Regions from separate parts of the Homo sapiens genome. Here regions 2 and 3 are each linked to region 1. Evidence: promoter capture Hi-C in 16 types of primary human blood cells and fetal thymus (Javierre and others, 2016). All regions are on one chromosome and are shown on one strand. Each heading gives the region's core, a stretch centred on a gene start or on the middle of the fragment in contact. The rest is flanking DNA. Distances are from core to core; before and after follow the strand shown.

Region 1 (2,634 bases), core at 86-2,585:
AACGCCTGTAACAATGCTTCTCCTCTCCTGGTCAAAACCACACTTTTAATGTCAATTTTAAATCTGCCCTTCCATAGTAGGATGATAATTTATGTTAACTCCTGAATTCACAAGCAATCCTAAAACAAGGTAAGTCTAAATACAGATAAGAGGTAGGTTAACTGATCTGCTGAGAACCAAGTTTGCTTGCTTATCTGCTATTTCGAGTCTCTGCACATCTAAAAATGCAAAGGAAACTCTTACCTAATTCTTGCATCTAGAATAGCCTTTCTCCAAATCCTGCCTTCTCCACTTACCTCAGAAGAATTGTTAGGATTAAATGGAAATAGGTACCGTGGTTTTTGCAGTTAAACTCAGTGAAATTAACTATTATATTTCCGTTATATAATGCTGTGTTGTAGGACCCAGAGCTCGTTAGAGAGGTGGAGCCTGGAGACCCAAGTTTGGCAGTTATTACCTCACTGGAGATAGTTCAAGTTATGGAAGGATCAAGAATGACAGATGAAGCGGGCACATGAGAAGCGAAGTGTCTTCAAGACTAAACACTAGACACTATCAGTATTTACAGGGCAAATAAATGAAAAAGAAGACGCTAATGAAATTTAAAACAAATAGTCAAAGGGATATAATGCCGGCAAGAGGCATAAGAGTGCAAGTAATTCAACTAACTTTTAATCAACTAGATCTCATTAATCCCACTCCCCTGACCCTGGGACCCGGGCACTAGGAAAGGGGCTTTGGCAAGCCCCAATGGACTCCAGAGGCTCTAAGTATAAAACGCAGTGCACAAGAAACAACACAGCACCAGCGTTGGTGCAGGATTTCAGACAGCTCCAGGAACTTCACAAGGAAGGTCAGCCGGTCCGCTCAGGCAGTCAGTTCATGGCAGCCCATTCCCTCCCCACCTGCTTGGACCTAGCCGCTCTCACACCCCTCTTGCGGGCCCGAGCGTAGCGAGAAGACCCACGCACACTCCAATGCCGCTCACAGCCGTATCAGTGAGCCCGCACCCACTCCTGGGGGTCTTTTACTTCCCACCCGATCCGGCGACCCGCCACCCCCACTCCGCGTCTCTGCCTGCGGGGACTCCACGGAGTTCGATAATTACCTAGAGCTCCACCGCGCCGCCATTACACCGGACGTACGTCACTTCCTCTTCCCGAGCACCGACGGTAGGAAGAAGGCGAATAGTGAAATATTTAAAAACTTGACGCTCAATTGGCTTGACACGTTATCCCTTTAATTTATTTCAAATACCATATCATAATACCAGAGTCAAAGTAGTCGATCCAGGCACACTGTCTTGTTGCCAAAATGGCGACAAAAAAGAGAAGTTGGCATGAACTACAAAGTCCGAAATCCAGCGCCTGTGCTGACGGAAATGAGGAAAGCATAATTGTAGTTTAGCGTGAAATGGCGCGGTGTACGATGGGAATTGTAGTTCATACAGATGCGCGCCAGCGAGTTAACATCCACGCTGCTCACTGGCAGCCTAGTAGTGTTCAGGGTCTAGCCGAATTTACTTTAAAACTATTTCACTGCATTTTGGGGAAATTTTTTTTAAAAAAGCAGTCAGTTGTCACTTTCCTTGAAAAATCTTAAGAGAGAGATTTTCCTGAGACTTTATAAGAGTTTGACCAACAGTTAAGTGCCTAATAAATTCCAAGATATCCAGGCCATAAGAATGGGAGAATATTAAATCATAAATAGAGTGAAATAATGAGGAAAAACTAATTCTATAGAGACTGTGTTGCCTCTCTTTTAGGTTAAGGTACCAACTGGTATGACCTGAGAATAAAGAGATTGCCTGGCTGAGTAGGAAGTAGCAGTTTGTACAGCGTGCAGAACTAGGGCATCAAACAGTTTCTTTAAACTTCACTTTTCACTAGTAACAAAACCTAAAAGTTCAACTACTTGCTATTTTGGAAACTCTCTTCCTAAACCAAGAATATCTTTATGTTATCAAATCTTTCATAAACCAGGACTGGTTTCTCCACACACTTCTCTATTACAGTTTTAGGGTGCTGTGCTTCCACTCCTTTCTGGAGGCAGAGTGTGATGATTAAGAATAAAAACACTGCAGTTGGACTACTTATTTTGAATCTTGAGTCCTTTTATTATTTATGGATGACTGGGGCAAGTAACTTCACATTCTGTGGCCGTTTCCTGATCTGTTAAATGGAAATACCAATAGTATCCATCCAGGCAGTAGTTTTAAGAATTGAATTAGTTGATACACAAGATGCATTTAAGATAATTGCTAGTATACAATAGTGTTATCTATTTTATTTCATATTTAAGATATTTGGCCATTGTTGATGGTGCATTTTGGTGCACCAATACAGGGCACAGGAGATGGATCTGGAGATGAACATTTGTATTCATATATTTAAAAACCCACAATACTACCGGTGATGGTTAATTCTGAATGTCAACTTGATTGGATTGAAGGATGCAAAGTATTGATCCTGGGTGTATCTGTGAGGGTGTTGCCAAAGGAGATTAACAGTTGAGTCAGTGGACTGGGGAAGACAGACTCACCCTTAATCTGGTGGGAACAATCTAATCAGCTACCATCGAATATAAAGCAGGCAGAAAAATATGAAAAGGCAAGACTGGCCTAGCCTCCCAGCC
Region 2 (2,634 bases), core at 37-2,536, 9.4 Mb after region 1:
TATTGCTGCTGTAACAATTTTCCTAAGTTGTTACTGTTATAACATTATTACTCTAACTCTTATTTCTAGTCTTGCTCTGAACTTTTTAACAGTTTTTTGTTGCCTCCTTAACTATAGCTCCTCTATATGGCTTTCAATCCCTTCTCTGATATAGCTCAACTCTTCCTACCCAACTGTTTCCTGATACTACCCATTATAGACACTTTGCTTGTCAGATAAGTACATTATCTGTGTCTTGTATATAATCATACCATTTCCTTGCTCTTGCTTATGTTGCTATTTTTTCTTCCCACCCCTTAAATCATACATCCTTCAGAGTCTAGTTTAAATCTTGGTTCCGACTTGAAACATCCCTAATTTCTTACTTCTTCACTTTCTCAACAAAGATGAATCCTATGTGACAGGTGTTGTGGTGGGTGCATTACACACCTTCCAGTCTACAAGGTTAAGGTATTATCCCTATTGAGTGAGTGCTTGCTGTGTATGCTAAGCTTGTATTTGCATGCAATGTTTCACTTAAACTCTATGAGAACGTGTTATTTACATTTTACAGTGGCTAACTGTAAGTGGAGATGTGAAGTTTAAAGAGGTTAAGTAAATTCTCCAACATCATTCAGCTAATACATAATAAAGCTGACATTCGAATCCATTTGTGTTTGACTTATTATTGTTTCTAATAAGTGAAAACACAGTGTCTCACCTCAAAGACTCACAGTCTGGTAGAGGAGAAACATAGTACACAGACAGTCTTAATGCCTTGTGGTAAGTTCTGTGATGGAGCTAAGCCCACCGTCGTGTAGAAGCACATTAGGACGGGTGCTGATCTAGAATGAGAAGATGAGGAAGGGCTTCCGGGAGAAAATTCTGAGCTGAATCTTAAAGCAGTAGTCAAGAGTTCTGAGAAATGGGAAAGACTGAAAAACTGTCACTGATTGGAAGGTTCTGAGAAGATATGACAACTAAGGTGGTATGCTGGACTGGGGTCTAGGAACATAAAAAAGACATTAATGGAAAAAGTGAAGAGCTCCAAATAAATTATGTAGTCAATAGTCATGTACCAGTGTTAATATCTTAGTTTTGACTAACATGCTGTGCTTATGTAAAGTGCTAACATTTGTGGAAGCTAGGTGAAGCGTATGCAGGAACTCTGTAATTCTTCTGTAAATCTAAAATTATTTCAAAATTAAAAGTTAAAAAATAAGCTTACTCTTAGGAAATAAAAAAGAAGTAATTAGAAAACGTGTTCTATGTAGATAGCAGAGAGTGCAAAACCATGGAGAGAAAGTTGACTTTGAAGGGTTGCGTTTAAGTAATTGAAGCCATTGTTCTATGCTGAGAAACAAGAAGAGAGGATATTCCTTTTTTCTGAGGAAGCTTATCAGAATCAATTAGGGAAAGTTTTCTTGGCCAACAGTAGCCCCCTACCCACCACTGTCTCAAGGAAGCCATATCTAAAGGACCTCTTCATATTGATAGGGTGTGTCTGGGGGATGGGGGAAATTGTTGGAGTTATGAACTATTTTAATAGAGCACAGTGTTAAGTGAAAAAGTAGTTCAAGTTAGACTGGGATCAGACTACCAAAGCCTTAAGAATTTAGATCATTTCCTAAAGTCAGAGGGAAAACAGTGAAGGATTTTAGCTTTATCTGAGCAAGTAATATGGTCAAATTTGCAAAATTAGTCTGGTGTGACTGTGAAAGCTGCATTGAAGGACTGTACCTGGAGACTGTAGGAAGCCCTGAAGAGTGGCCCAGGCTGGAGATGTTAAGCTTCTGAACTGAAGTACTCATGGGAATGGAGAAGAGGCTCCAGCCAAAGGGCAGGTTATATATCGCAAATGCTTTGTTGCTCATACATTCTTGATCTTATACCATTTCATACAACCATGCCTCCTGGCTGACAGCACTTACAAGAGACCATTGATTATAAGATGCATTCTAATTTCAAAGAGATGAACAAGTGAAAATCAAGTGTCTTGAACTAATAAAATAGGATAGTAGTGGTCCCAGTTTGCAACAAATTTAGTGTGTTGTAATACAGTAGCTCTCCCTTGTCCACAGAGGATATGTTCCAGGACCCTCAGTGGATGCCTAGAACCACAGGTAATACCAGACACTCTATATAGTAAATGTTTTCCTATACATACATACCTATGATAAAGTTTAAGTTATAAATCAGGCACAGAGATTAACATCAATAACTAATAAAATAGAACAATTATAACAATATGTCAGCATCACTACCCTTATACTTTGGGGCCATTATTAAGTAAAATAAGGGTTACTTGAACATAAGTACTTCAGTACAGCAATAGTGGATAGGATAAACTAGACAGTTTCTACGTGACTAACGGGCAGGTGTGTCTACAGCAGAGAATGCTGGAAAAAGGAATGATTCATGTCTCAGGTGAGACAAGGGAATTCACTACTGAGAATGGCATACAATTTTAAACTTATGAATTGTTTCTGGAATTTTCCATTTAATATTTTCAGATTGATCTTGACTGTAGGTAATTAAAACCAGGGAAAGTGAAACCATAAATAAGAGAGTACTGCTATGAATATAATAGACACAGAGCAAATACTTTTTACTTGGAAGATACAAGAAGATTTATATTTCTGCGCCTTGTTCTGT
Region 3 (2,634 bases), core at 52-2,551, 6.5 Mb after region 1:
ACAAGCAGCTGAGGCATCATCAGGGGAACTCAAAAGAAAAGGCACCTACAAATGTATGCATACACCTAGTTAAAGACATTTATCCTTGTAAGTGCCATCTATTAATTTTGTTCCTTTATTGTGTAATCTTGGACTTAGGGACAAATAGCACATCACCATTATTATTGGAAAAATCCCCAGATGTATCAGGGTGATCATAACATCTTGGCACAGAAGATTTTGTTAAATTCATATTCAAAAGATAAGATAAATACCAAAACTAAATATACTCTTATAGCACAAATGGGGCAAGAACTCTCAGCCAGCTCTAGTTCTCGCTCATCATCTTTTTTTATTCCAAGACCAAGTCTCGCTCCTTGCGCAGGCTGGAGTGCAGTGGCACAATCTCTGCTCACTGCAACCTCCCCCTCCTAGGTTCAAGCTACTCTCGTGCCTCAGCCTTCCAAGTAGCTGGGATTACAGGCATGTGCCACCACGCCCAGCTAATTTTTGTGTTTTTAGTAGATACGGGGTATTGCCATGTTGCCAAACTAGTCTCGAACTCCTGGGCTCAAGTGATTCACATTTGGCCCCCCAAAGTGCTGAGATTACAGGCGTGAGCCACTGCACCCGGCCACCATCGCTCATTTTTAAAAGCACATTTATTGAGCTCTTTCTAAGAGACAGGTTGCATTAGGCACCTGATGGGAGCCAAGGTTCCTGCTCCCATGAAGCTTATATTCTGGGACAAGAGATACCCAAGTAAGAAATGAAGACATAAAAACACAAAGTAATTACAAATTAAGATAAATCTAAAATTAAAGGAGTGAAACACATGATGACATAGATATTAACTAGGAGCAGAGGGTAGAAGTTGTTTAGATGTAGTGGTCAGGGATAACTGTTTAGAAGAATTGCCACCTGAGCTGCTATCTGTAGGATGAAAATGAGTCAGCCATGTGGAGACCTGTGGGAAGAATATATCCAAAAAGGGAACAAGGGAAACGATACCTTAAATACAATGTCATAATTACAAAAAAGACCCCTCAAAAATGCCAGTTATCAGCAGATGGCAGTATCCATATATGTAAGAAAAGAAATATAGGTCAATAGAGTTGGAAATATACACTTGTTTCAGATAGCCATGTCTTAAATTGGATGTCCAGTATGATTCATCCTAATGTGGAATGAGTAAGTAGCCGTATTTAAGCCAACTCAAGGCAAAATTACCAGGCCCTGTTGATACTCTACTACCCAAAAAGTTCTTCTCCCTAGGGTCCCTGCCACAGTTGCCTCTTTTCACTTTCCTCCCTAAACTTCTTTTTCTGTATTTACCTTTTAAACATTGTTCCTCACATTTTTATTCTTTTTTGGCTCTCTACAATCTTTTTCAAAGTAATCCATTCCCATTGGCCACCATGTTCTAAACTCTCTTCTGAGTTTACAAGTCAAATATATACCATTGGATTTTGCCACATAAATGACGCACTAGGACCATAAATTCAGCAGAGCCAAAACTGGATATGTTATTTCTTGCCCTGGCCACACATTCCAATCATTGCCTATGTAACCTCCCTGGCACCCACATTGATCACTTGCCCATGCTTGCCACCTGGATCCTCTTCTACTTTCTGACTTCTTCCCCTCAGCTCCCACATTCAGTCACCCAATCTCCTGATTTTATATTCTCCATATTTACTGGAGTAAGCTCATTTAGAAATTAATGTATCAATGCTGAATTCCTTACTTCTTTACACTATGACCTGAATTATATAGTAGTATCCACTAATTATGTGTTTACATGTGCCAAGTACTCTAATAAGTGACTGACATGCATTATATCATTTCGTCCTTCCAATAGCCCTATGAGCTAGGAACAGTATTATTCCTCTTTTATATATAAGAAGAGTAAAGCTTACCAGTGTCCAACAATTTGCCTAAAGTCACCTATATAAGTGGAAGGGAAGAAATTTAACCCACATATTTTGACTATAAAACATGACCTTTTATACAGTGTGTCATAAAAGAGAAATGGAAAATTAGCTTTCATAAGAAGAATCTAATTTGATAGTTCTTTTAGGAACAACTTTCCCACTTCAAAGGTTTTAGGATTCAAGGATAAATGACACTAAATCCAGCTATAAGGTGAGATGGTATTCAATCCATTAAAACAGTGGTTCTGAAATGTTTTCAGGTAGCAAATACCTGGAACTTGTGGTGTTATATGGAAAAATTTAAAATATATTAATAAATTTAATTTCACCAAAAAGACTGTAACATAAGACCATATTTTACATAAATGTCCCCACATTATTTTGAATATATAGGTTTTCCAGTCACATGAAATATTTGATCCATTACTGTTTCTTTTTTTTTTTAATCTGCTAGGTGAAAAATGCTAGCAATCTACTAATTTTTTAAGAATGACTATGAGGGAAAAAAGCTTAAAATTGAAAAAAAATATTTTTCTGTTAATTAGAAATACATCATCATTCAATTTAGTAGATCATCTTAGTCCAACCTACTGAACTCTTTCATATGAGCATAATTTGAGAACCACTAAAATATACATTTATTAAGCACCTATATTTAAGAAAATATGCAATGCGTTATGGGAAAACAATAAAATATCATGTCTCAGTTTACAAACTTACC

Evidence for each region. The method cuts DNA at HindIII sites, captures the fragments that hold promoters and counts their contacts. A CHiCAGO score of 5 or more calls a contact.
Region 2: a fragment that was not itself captured here is called in contact with the fragment with the promoter of CWC22 in region 1 in 1 of 17 cell types (total CD8 T cells); the score reaches 6.0 in total CD8 T cells.
Region 3: a fragment that was not itself captured here is called in contact with the fragment with the promoter of CWC22 in region 1 in 1 of 17 cell types (non-activated CD4 T cells); the score reaches 5.9 in non-activated CD4 T cells.

What each region holds. Positions count from the first base shown.
Region 1 is chr2:180,005,962-180,008,595 of GRCh38, forward strand. CWC22 (CWC22 spliceosome associated protein) reads right to left here and starts at 1,336. Exons shown (of 20, transcript NM_020943.3): 1 at 906-1,336. RefSeq lists an enhancer at 484-1,016. The HindIII fragment of the contact is 3,569 bases long and covers 1-2,634 here.
Region 2 is chr2:189,444,617-189,447,250 of GRCh38, forward strand. All of the region lies in intron 1 of WDR75 (WD repeat domain 75), which reads left to right. Among named protein-coding and RNA genes, the nearest start is that of WDR75, 4.5 kb to the left of the region's middle. The HindIII fragment of the contact is 172 bases long and covers 1,201-1,372 here.
Region 3 is chr2:186,479,648-186,482,281 of GRCh38, forward strand. All of the region lies in intron 1 of LOC105373785 (a long non-coding RNA gene), which reads right to left. Among named protein-coding and RNA genes, the nearest start is that of ZC3H15, 5.3 kb to the right of the region's middle. The HindIII fragment of the contact is 1,180 bases long and covers 712-1,891 here.